3 separate regions of the Homo sapiens genome follow, and regions 1 and 3 are each linked to region 2. Evidence: promoter capture Hi-C in human tissues and cell types (Jung and others, 2019). All regions are on one chromosome and are shown on one strand. Each heading gives the region's core, a stretch centred on a gene start or on the middle of the fragment in contact. The rest is flanking DNA. Distances are from core to core; before and after follow the strand shown.

Evidence for each region. Contacts are between HindIII fragments. The study calls those that stand out against the background at their distance.
Region 1: a contact is called between a fragment that was not itself captured here and the fragment with the promoter of EIF2B5 in region 2, in 3 of the 25 tissues and cell types used here (H1 embryonic stem cells, mesendoderm cells and small bowel).
Region 3: a fragment that was not itself captured here is called in contact with the fragment with the promoter of EIF2B5 in region 2 in 3 of the 25 tissues and cell types used here (H1 embryonic stem cells, dorsolateral prefrontal cortex and spleen).

The regions. Positions count from the first base shown.
Region 1 is chr3:184,268,483-184,273,091 of GRCh38, reverse strand. The region is part of intron 2 of EEF1AKMT4-ECE2 (EEF1AKMT4-ECE2 readthrough); the gene reads right to left. Among named protein-coding and RNA genes, the nearest start is that of ECE2, 5.2 kb to the left of the region's middle. The HindIII fragment of the contact is 8,798 bases long and covers 1-4,609 here.
Region 2 is chr3:184,133,994-184,137,218 of GRCh38, reverse strand. It overlaps EIF2B5 (eukaryotic translation initiation factor 2B subunit epsilon), which reads right to left and starts at 1,861. Exons shown (of 16, transcript NM_003907.3): 1 at 1,639-1,861; 2 at 483-607. The coding sequence starts at 1,833. EIF2B5-DT (EIF2B5 divergent transcript) reads left to right here and starts at 1,958. Exons shown (of 2, transcript NR_183721.1): 1 at 1,958-2,683; 2 at 2,941-3,225. RefSeq lists enhancers at 1,512-1,581, 1,902-1,961, 2,831-3,225 and a silencer at 1,652-1,761. The HindIII fragment of the contact is 14,690 bases long and covers 1-3,225 here.
Region 3 is chr3:184,368,425-184,371,634 of GRCh38, reverse strand. It overlaps POLR2H (RNA polymerase II, I and III subunit H), which reads right to left. Exons shown (of 6, transcript NM_006232.5): 6 at 3,044-3,210. Among named protein-coding and RNA genes, the nearest start is that of THPO, 8.2 kb to the left of the region's middle. The HindIII fragment of the contact is 4,081 bases long and covers 1-3,210 here.

The sequences.
Region 1 (4,609 bases), core at 325-2,824, 140 kb before region 2:
TCCATCATTGACATAAAGGTTGTTATGTGGTGCATGATTGCATAATGAAAGCTACTACGTATGGGCCACCTGGCAACAGGATCATTAGAAATATTCCCAGGGTCACTGCAACAGCATACTACAAATAGCAAGTTTAGACAGCACTTTACTATGTGGCAGCCACTGCTCCAAGTGGTTTACATCTTATGCACTCATGACACTTATGAAGCCATTCTACAGATGAGGAAACTGAGACATAGAAACACTCAGAGTTATACAGGTTGTAAGTGGCAGAGCTGGGATTCAAACCCAGGGAGTATGGTTCCTTTCTGGAGTGCAGTTTAGCAATATGAATCAAAAGGTGGCTACACTTCCTCCCTGCATTAGTTGCTAGTGTTTTGCTACATCCCTTCTAGGAAGAATAAGTGGAAATACATAAATTTCCAAGACAGGCAGACTTGGGCTCAAATTTGGGCTCAATTCTTTATCAGCTGTATCATCTTTATCAAGTTACTTGAAAGCTCTGACTGTTAATTTTTCTCATCTATAAAATGGGAATAATCACCCCTGTCTCAGAGAGTTGCTGTGAGAATTAAATGCAACCACATATGATAGAGCCTGTTACCTATTTTTACACTGCTCTCAGATGCACTAGGCTTGGCCTAAATGGGCATTTTCTTTTCAAGTCTCTTTCATGACCCAAATTATTTTTAGACCCGTAACCATCCCCCCCTCCCCTCCCCTCCCCTCCCCTTTCCTTCCTCTCTTCCTTCCTTCCTTCCTTCCTTCCAATTTTTAGAGACAGGGTTTGCTCTATCACCCAGGCTGGCATTATCAGAGCTCCCTGCAGCCTCAACCTCCTATGCTCAAGCGATCCTCCCACCTCAGCCTCCCAAGTAGCTGGGACTACAGGTGCATTCCATCACACCTGGCCTTTTTTTTTTTTTATACAGATGAGGTCTCACTATGTTGCCCAATTTGGTCTCAAACTCCTGAGCTCAAGTAATCCTCCTGCATTGGCCTCCCAAAGTACTGTAGGCCTGAGCCACCACGCCCAGCCCCCCATAACTATTTCCGACTACATGTTAAATACCCTATGTATAAGAGTCTTGGAGGTTGCTCTGTTTTATATTTCTATTTTCTTTCTCTGTATTTTTCATCTTTGACTCTGTTTCTCTCTTATTCTCCTATTTTCTCTCTCTCTTTTCTACTCTTCCTTTCCTACATGGATAATCTTTTTTTGATCTTTTTTCCTACATAGATAATCTTTTTTTTGGTCTTTTTTCCTACATGGATAATCTTTTTTTTTTTTTTTTTTTGGTCTAAATTGATTGTGAATTGAGAGGGAATGGACAATGGCTTGTGTGTTAAATTTACAAACACAATGTAGTCATGAAGATAACAAGAAACATCGATGAGGCCCAGTGTGGTGCTCATGCCTGTAATCCCAGCACTTTGGGAGGCTAAGGTGAGCGGATCACCTGAGGTCAGGAGTTTGAGACCAACCTGGCCAACATGGTGAAACCTAGTCTCTACTAAAAATACAAAAATTAGCCGGGCGTGGTGACGGGTGCCTGTAATCCCAGCTACGCCAGAGGCTGAGGCAGGAGAATTGCTTGAATCTGGGAGATGGAGGTTGCAGTGAGCTAAGATGGCGCCACTGCACAGCAGCCTGGGCGATAGAGCAAGACTCCATCTCAAAAACAAAAGAAACATCAAAGTCCAGTATAGATAAAGATGGAAGATATGAACACTCATACATTGCTGGTAGCTTAGAAGTTGATACAACCTTTTTGGCAATATGAATCAAAAGGTATGAAAGTGTGCATACTCTTTGACCCAGAAAATTTACTTCTAGGAAATTGTTCCAGGAAATAATCATTATCCATGGGATAGTTTTATCAATTAGCTTTTGTTGTGTAACAAATCATCTCAAACTGGATTAAAATAACAAACATTGATTATTTCTCATGTTCTGTGATTTTTTGGGATTGGCCAGCTCAGCAGGAGCTGGATGGTTTAGCATGGTCTAGAATGGCTTCATTTACATTTTTGGGCTTCAGCTGGGATGCCTGAACAGTGTCTCTGTGTATTATCTCCTCTTCCAGTAGGCTTGCCCAGGCTTCTTCATATGGTGGCCTTAAGATTCTCAGCAACAAAGAAGGGGCAAGCCCCAGTACATAAACACTTTTTTTTTTTTTTTTGAGATGGAGTCTTGCTCTGTCGCCCAGGCTGGAGTGCAGTGGCGCGACCTCGGCTCACTGCAAGCTCCGCCTCCTGGGTTCACACCATTCTCCTGCCTCAGCCTCTGGAGTAGCTAGGACTACAGGCGCCCGCCACCACGCCCGGCTAATTTTTTGTATTTTTAGTAGAGACGGGGTTTCACCATGTTAGCCAGGATGGTCTCGATCTTCTGACCTCGTGATCCACCAGCCTTGGCCTCCCAAAGTGCTGGGATTACAAGCGTGAGCCACTGCGCCCGGCCATAAACACTTTTTTTTTTTTGACACAGAGTTTCGCTCTTGTTGCCCAGGCTGGAGTGCAATGGTGCGATCTTGGCTCACCGCAACCTCTGCCTCCGGGTTCAGGTGATTGTCCTGTGTCAGCCTCCCGAGTAGCTGGGATTACAGGCATGTGCTACCATTCCTAATTTTGTATTTTTAGTAGAGACAGAGTTTGTCCATGTTGGCCAGGCTGGTCTCGAACTCCTGACCTCAGGTGATCCACCCGCCTTGGCCTCCTAAAGTGCTGGGATTACAGGGGTGAGCCAAAGTGCCTGGCCATAAACACTTTTTTCAAGCCTCTGCTTGCAACACATTTACCAACGTCCACATTGGGCAAAGCAAGTCACATGATCAAGCCCATTCAGGGCTGGAGAAATAGATGCTACTTCTTGATTGGAGGAGGTACAAAATAATGTGGCCATTTTTTTCCTACGACATTTGTTCATCACAGCACTATTTATAATCGTAAACAAAAAATTAGGAGGGAATTCAATGTTCAAGAGTAGAGGGCTTGTTGAATTAAACATCCATATGATGAGATGCTATGCAACATTTACAAATGATAGACAAGAAGAGTTTATGCTGTGGGAAAATGTTCCCCACATACAGTTAAGCGGAGGAGAAAAAGGGTTACAAAATCTCATTTTTGTTAAGCAGAAGGTATAAAAGCATAGGTTAAAAAAAAAATTGGAATTGCCAGGCACAGTGGCTCATGCCTGTAATACCAGCACTTTGGGAGGCCAAGGCAGGAGGATTGCTTGAGCTCAGGAGCTCGAGACCTGGGCAACATAGTGAGACCTCATCTCTATTAAAAATTTTTAAAAAAAATTAGCTGGGCATGATGGTATGCACCTGTAGTCCCAGCTACTCAGGGGGCTGAGGAGGGAGGATCACTTTAGCCTGGAAAATTGAGGGTGCAGTGAGCTATGATTGTGCCACTGCACTCCAGAAGGGATGGCAGAGTGAGACCCTATCTCAAAAATCAAACAAGGCCGGGCGTGGTGTCTCATGCCTGTAATCCCAGCACTTTGGGAGGCCGAGGCGGGCAGATCACGAGGTCAGGAGCTCGAGACCAGCCTGGCCCACATAGTGAAACCCCGTCTCTACTAAAAATACAAAAAATTAGCCAGGCACCTGTAATCCTAGCTACTCGGGAGGCTGAGGCAGGAGAATGGCGTGAACCCGGAAGGCAGAGGTTGCAGTGAGCCAAGATCACGCCACTGTACTCCAGCCTGGGCGACAGAGCGAGACTCTGCCTTAAAAAAAAAAAAGAAAACAAGAAAAACAAACCAACCAAACAAAAAAAGCAAAAAAGATTAGGAGTACATACAACAAAATATTAATTATAAATATATCTAGTGATGGCATTATTTTTTCTTTATGTTTTTCTGTATAATAATAACATTTCTATAGTCCAACATTTACCTAAGCAGTTTATATATATGTTAACTTATTTAATCCTTGCGATAGCCTATAAGATGGGTTCTACCAATATCATTGTCCATATTTTAGAGATGAGGAACCTAAGACACAGAGAAGCTTAATAACTTGTCCAAAGTTACAAGCAGGTAGAGGGCAGAGCCTGGATTTGAATCTAAGCTTCATGTTCTTAACTGCTACACTATTTTCCTTTTTTTTTTGAGATGGAGTTTCACTCTTGTCACCCAGGCTGGAGTGCAATGGCACAATCTTGGCTTACTACAACCTCTGCCTCTTGGGCTCAAGCGATTCTTCTGCCTCAGCCTCCAGAATAGCTGGGATTACAAGTGCCCACCACCACACCTGGATAATTTTTGTATTTTTAGTAGAGATGGGGTTTCACCATGTTGGCCAGGCTGGTCTTGAACTCCTGACCTCAGGTGATCCACCAGCCTCAGCCTTCCAAAGTGCTGGGATTACAGGTGTGAGCCACTGCACCCAGCCCACTATTTTCCTTTCAAAGGCAACTAATTTGTCTGGGGCTAGAGTATAATGTTTGATAAATGTGCTATATCACTGGTTTTAAGCCCTTAAAAAATATATATTAAGGCTGGTCTCAGTGGCTCATGCCTGTAATCCTAGCATTTTGGGAGGCCAAGACTGGAGGTTTGCTTGAGCCCAGGAGTTTAGGACCAGCCTCGGCAACA
Region 2 (3,225 bases), core at 612-3,111:
GGACTTCCATAAGCAATGCGATTCCCTAGTTTTCAAGATTTCAACAAACATGTAAGTGCTCACTATATGCTTGGGACTGAGCTAGGCAGTGGGAATACAAAGATGACAAGGAGCTCATTTATATCCTTGAAGGTGAGAACAAACAAGATTTAGAAACTCAGTGGGAAAACAAAGATGTTATCATTGTAACTTCCATACTGAAGCCATTAAATAAAAGCAAAGTCCACTGGCACCAAACTTTATAATGAGATTCAGAAAAAACCCAAGTTTATTCTTTAATCTTTGTCACAGAAAACCCAAGACAGACAGATACAAAGTTTCAGCTGCTCACCTCCTGATAAGTGTAGAAAATACCCTTAGAACTTACAATGACATCTAAGTAGACACATTTTTCCCCTCTCACATTTCCCCTTAGTTACATTCATCCTGAAAAAACTGGAAAAAGATGGCGAAACATGGAAAGAAAAGTTGCAGGGCCTTACAGTAAATGTTCTTTGATTTGAGCAGCTTTCCAGCAACAAAAGACAAATGTTTCCTGTACACCTGTGGCAGTCAGGAATTCCAGAGTGTAGTCAATTAATGCCACATTGGCCAGGGGCAAGAGGACCTGAAGGATACAAGATGAAAAAAAACTTGAGGTCTCGAATCCCTTTGGGTACCCCACTGCAACAATTTTCACTCCTCTATTCGTATTTCCAAACAGTGTAATTTTGCTGTATCTTTCCAATTCAAAGATAAACAGGTTCCTGCCTTTGATGTTCATGCCATGCTCTAAGCCTGAGTCTGAGACATTGCAATTTGGGGATGGTAAGTACAGAATCTATGTGCCTTGTATCAGACACAGAGCTGTGACAGAATGGCAGTTCACTGCTGGCAAAGGATAATACTGGAAATCAATCATATTTCCATAAATTTAAGCATTGCTAAGGCCTTCTTCCCCATAAGATTTCCTTCCTTGATCCCTTTCTAAGTGTCAGAGGTTAGCCATCTCCCGTCACTTGTCAAAAATGAACAGCCATTAGGCTTTTTCGAGGGAATTAGAGAGGATTTTCCTTAAATCCAATGCAGTTCCCTCTTTCTGAACTGACTGCTGAACGACCCAGCTGAGTCCAATACCCCATTGTCTAGACAACTCGGGGGCTGATGGCAATCAACCACTAAACCCATTTTGTCCTTTCGACAGATAGCACCGGCTATCATTAGAACCTGGAAGGAAAAAAAAAATACACTGCCTGAGATCTAGCCCGCTCTTTTTAAGGCATATTACCGCCCTTTCAGAGGCAAAAGGTCGTTTCTTTTCACCTAAGCAACCGTCATCGGCAAGGTTAAAAGCGGCGCAGCCTCTTCTAGGGGCACTGAATCCCCGCGTGAAGGCTTCTCTCAAGCGCTGTTTCTACATTTAGCTCTCTTCATTCCTTTCAAACCCGAGGTGGACAGCATTACGAATGCCCAAATCTGCCGGCCACTAACTTGGTCAGCAGTCATCAGGGTTTAGACAGTCCCTCTGCATCCGGTTTTAGGATAACAGCATAGACGCAGGTCCTTCAAGGGCATGCTGTTGTAGTTAGCCGAAATGAGAACTTGCTCCAGCCCTGCCACCCTTCCTGCCCTCTGGCTGCTCGCGTGCGCGGCGCTCACCCGAGGCTGGTCCTTGGAGATGGGGAAGAAGCGGCGATCGAAGCTATCGGCCACCAGAACTGCTTGTAGGGGCGGCGGCGGTTCCTCCTCCGCCCCTCTGGCTCCCCCGCCACCGCTGCCTCCCGGCCCCGCGCCGCTGCGCTTGTTAGCCCGACTAACCACCACACCAGGCGGCGCCACTACAGGGGCCGCCATCTTCTTCTCTCACGGTCACCACTTCCGCAAGGAAGCTGCCACCGCACGCAGTAGGGGACAAAAAGGATCCAGCACTTGAAATGCGATGGACTAATTAACGAAGGGAAGGAGACGAGGAGGGAGCAGTGCGCATGCGTCTTCCCCGGGAGCCCACAGGGGTCTGAGGTTGATCCCGGAGGCGCGAGGAGTCGGTACGGGTCACGGTTGTCCCGGCCCCTGAGGCGCAGGGTAGGAGTGGGGTCCCATAGATGTCAGACTCGGTCTGCAAGTATCGTCGGCCTTCATTTGTAGGTGAACAAGCCGAGATTCTTGTGGCGTGATAGGACTTGTGGTCGCCACGAAGGGGCCAGCTCCATCGGGAATCTGTAATCGCCCAGCAGTTTCCCCGCCCCGCGCATGTGAAATATGTAGCCCTCCGTATTCATTCTAGAAACTTCTGGGAACCCAGCGCCTTGGGGAGATAGAACCGAGCCAGATGTTCCCCCGCTGCGAGGAACTCAGAACCTGCATAAATAGAGAAGGTGGCAGGCATATAGTAGGGAGACCAGTAATTCCATTGAGCGCTGATTTTGGGCCAGGCACGATACAAGCATTATCTCTGCAAAACATCTTATTCATTCGTTCAGCAAACGTTTCTTGAACTCTCAGAAGGATGAAGGAAGTTTACCCAGCTAGTAAGTGGAAGAACTGGTATTGGAACCCGATCTGTCTGACTGCAGAGTTCCACAATCTTGCTGCCAAGTTATGTGGGGATAACAATGACTATTTTATGTCATCTATTCATTCTTCCAGCCTATCAGCCTCCTGTGTCTTAAGCAGAGTGGAGACGGGGGTGGATCCAGGCGCACCAGTAAGTTGTACTGGAGTTAAGCAGTAAGCTTTCTGGGCAGAGGAAAGTGCGGGCGTAAAGGTCCAAGGCTTGAAAAGGCGCAGCAGCACCTTTTTCTCTTTGGGGAAAGAAGCGGTGGCTGCGGGGAATAAACCAACTCTGTAGAGGGGCGGGGCCGTGGGAAAGCGGTGGAACGGGGCAGGAAGGCTGGGCGTCATTTGGGAGGCAAGGAACTTTTCTGTAAGGCATAGCGCCCTTTCTGCACGGGACCTGTCCAGGTTCCACGCCACAGGCTTCTGCAGTTCCTGCAAACTGTTCCCATCCCGCCCCGCGTTGCACGTCGGGATTTGGAGTTCGCGATGCTGAGAGCTGTTTCCACGTGGCGATTCCGACTTGACCCGTCGTGCTCCGGCGCCCGCCTAGGGGGACCGAGGAGTTTGTCATTTCTTGCCTCGTTAGGGTGCGGAACGAAAACCATTTGATTTATCCTAGAAAAGGAAAGGCTGAAGCCAACTAAGTAAAAGTTTTCCATTAAATGAATGCACGTTGTAGAAAAGGAATGT
Region 3 (3,210 bases), core at 711-3,210, 230 kb before region 2:
CAAGTTGAAGGCTCATTTCCCAGTTCCCGCAAATGCATCTAAAAAGCAGCTCTGTGTGACCACCATAAACTCTGCTAGGGGATCTCTAAAAAGGAGTCAGGCTTATGGGGCTTTGCAAATAAGTGCTGCCTTGGTGCTCAGGAAAAGGTTTGTGTTGCACAAAAACACAAATTCCACTGCAAAAATCAACCTGCTACCTCCAGAGGTTCCTGTAGGAAAACTAGTGGAAGCTTCTTCCTCTCCCCGACCCCTGAGGAAGGAAAGGCTACCACGGAGGTAGAGGAGCCAGGAACCCAGAAACCCAAACACTGCCACAAATACCCCAGGGTCACCAAAGGCATTCCAAAGCAGCAGAATGAAAGGCAATGTGCTAGGAACCTCGTGTACTTTACCTTTTGTAACATTCACACAACTCTGTAAGGTAGGTATTATCTTTTCTGTTTTAGAGATGAGGAAACTGAGGCTCAGAGAAGCCAGGTGAGTTATCAGTGGTTACACGCCCTGTGGGCAGGAGAAGAAACACCCTAGTCTGACCTCACTCTAGGGTCCATACTCTCTCCAGTGTGGTACACTGTCCTATATGTCATTTAATGATTCTGTTTACTGGGAAAGACATACAAGTCCTTAAGGAGTAACAGTTAGAGTTTTGAGGCCGGGCGCGGTGGCTCACGCCTGTAATCCCAGCACTTTGGGAGGCCAAGGCAGGCGGATCACAAGGTCAGGAGATCAAGGCCATCCTGGCCAACACGGTGAAACCCTGCCTTTACTAAAAATATGAAAAATTAGCCGAGTGTGGTGGCAAGCGCCTGTAGTCTTGAACCCGGGAGATGGAGGTTGCAGTGAGCCAAGATCGCGCCACTGCACTCCAGCCTGGGCAACAGAGTGAGACTCCATCTCAAAAAAAAAAAAGAGTTCTGAGTAGAAAACCAAAGTTCTTAGTGGAGGTGACCAATTTAGACATCTTCCCATGTCCCTCTCTCCCTTCACGGACAGAATAGTTTTCCTAGAGAAGGAATCAACAAATGCACAAAGCTCAAAAATGTTGTCCAAATCTCAAATGCTGTCAGTTTCTGCATGGAAGAGAAGTAGTTCATTCATACTACAAATTCCAGCATGCAGTCAAGGGAATGTTAAGTGGAAACTAACTTACTGACATATTGAGCTGGGTTAAATTTAATAATCAAATGAAACACTTTATAGCACATGAAAGTGCCAGCACCTAGGACACGATACACCAATAGAACCAGAGAATGATGGGTTCCCAGCACAGACAGATGAGAGACAAGAATGGCAAAACTTTAGGGCCAGGTATGGTGGCTCACACCCAGCACTTTGGGAGGCCGAGGCAGGCGGATCACCTGAGGTCGGGAGTTCGAGACCAGCCTGACCAACATGGAGAAACTCCATCTCTACTAAAAAATACAAAATTAGCTGGGCATGGTGGTGCATCACCTGAGGTTGGGAGTTTGAGACTGGCCTGACCAACATGGAGAAACCTCGTCTCTACTAAAAATACAAAATTAGCTGAGCATGGTGGCACATGCCTGTAATCCCAGCTACTCGGAAGGCTGGGGCAGGAGAATCGCTTGAACCCGGGAGGCAGAAGTTGTGGTGAGCCGAGATCGCGCCATTGCACTCCAGCCTGGACAACAAGAGCGAAACTCCATTTCAAAAAAAAGAAAAAAAGAAATAGAATGTCAAAACTGCAAATGTCACCAGAAACTTCCAGGCATCTGGTATTGGTATGTGACTTACTCCACTTGTGGGCAAATGCGAGTAACTCATGGGCTTCTCCAGTGTGAACTTACCTGCCCTATTACAAATCTAACCCATTCCCAAATCAGTCTGGTTGGTCCCATCCCTTCTTCCCACTAACACAAAAAAACAATTACAACCAGAACACTCCTATCCCTATTCAATGCTCTACCAGTTCTCTTTCTTCTGCTACCCCAAGACCGCCAGGACAGTCTATGATAACCTACACACTATTACTTGTAATTCGTTTGTCTCACTCTCATTTGTCGTTCTCCAACCCCACAAAAAAACCCACCCCATGGAAAGGTTCTAGGATTTCATAAAAATTCATCCCAACTCCCTCCCCCTACTCTACCCATAGTAAGGTAAAAGAAACACCTCTTCCTCCTCCCTGCTGAGGCCATTCATTTTCAACCCATTTCCCTAAATACTATTTCTAACACCTCACATGAAGATCCGAAAATGATGGGGAAGGAAATACCCCAGGTATCCCAGCAGGGGACCAGCTCCCAGGCAAAACCAGATCAAACAGACAACTGTTTAATGCACAGAGAATCTTTTTGGATTGTTACCCTAAACTTCCTAGGGGAAAACAGAACCCCATATGCTTTCCTAGAGACCTCTAATGCCAAGCTGAAGAGCCAGCTCACATGCTGGAGCCCTTATCATAGCCATTTCCTTAATGTTTTTTCTTCCCCTACTCATAAGTTAGTGACTGTAGTCAGGCCGCTACATGGTCCTGGCACTGGCCCTGGCTCTGGCCTGCCAACTTCATTGGTATTGCTGCCCTGTCCACTTCCACTTACCCTCCCTCCCAGGTCACCACTGGAATGTAGAGCAGAGAGCCAGCTCCTCCAGCTGCTTCCAGAACCACCAAGTCCTCTCGTCCTACTCTCTTCATAGTCATCTCCCATGCCTGTAGCTAAAAGCCTCTACCCAAAGCTTCCATAAAAATAATGAACATTTCTAGACTATGCAAGTGACTCATTCAAGTCAGCATGAACTGACTTCCTAAGAGACTGAAAGTGTTGGAAGGACATGAGCAGGGCTCCTTGCCAATTCAAAATTCTGCGCCAAATGGGTGGTATCTTCTGGGCCTGGGGTACCCTCAGGAGCCAAAAGCACAACTCTCTCCCAGACTGAAAACCACACTGGAGGATAAATGTTGAGAACAGTCAGCCAGGAGACTGAGATAACCCTGAACCCAGATACCAAAAGGCTGGAATAGATCCTACATTGACAAGTGATCAGCTGGCTGTGGGCCAGAAACAATACACCACAGACAAACTGGAAAAAACGATTTTACAGTAAATGGACTTTTTACAAAAAGGGGAGGGGCAGTCTGAAAAAGTAAAGTTTAATTTAAAAATCATATACATAAAGCTTCTGATTCATTTTCAGCTCTCCCACTGTGTCTTTCACAGGCGAGTCAGTTTCCCATTGAGTGGAGGCCAG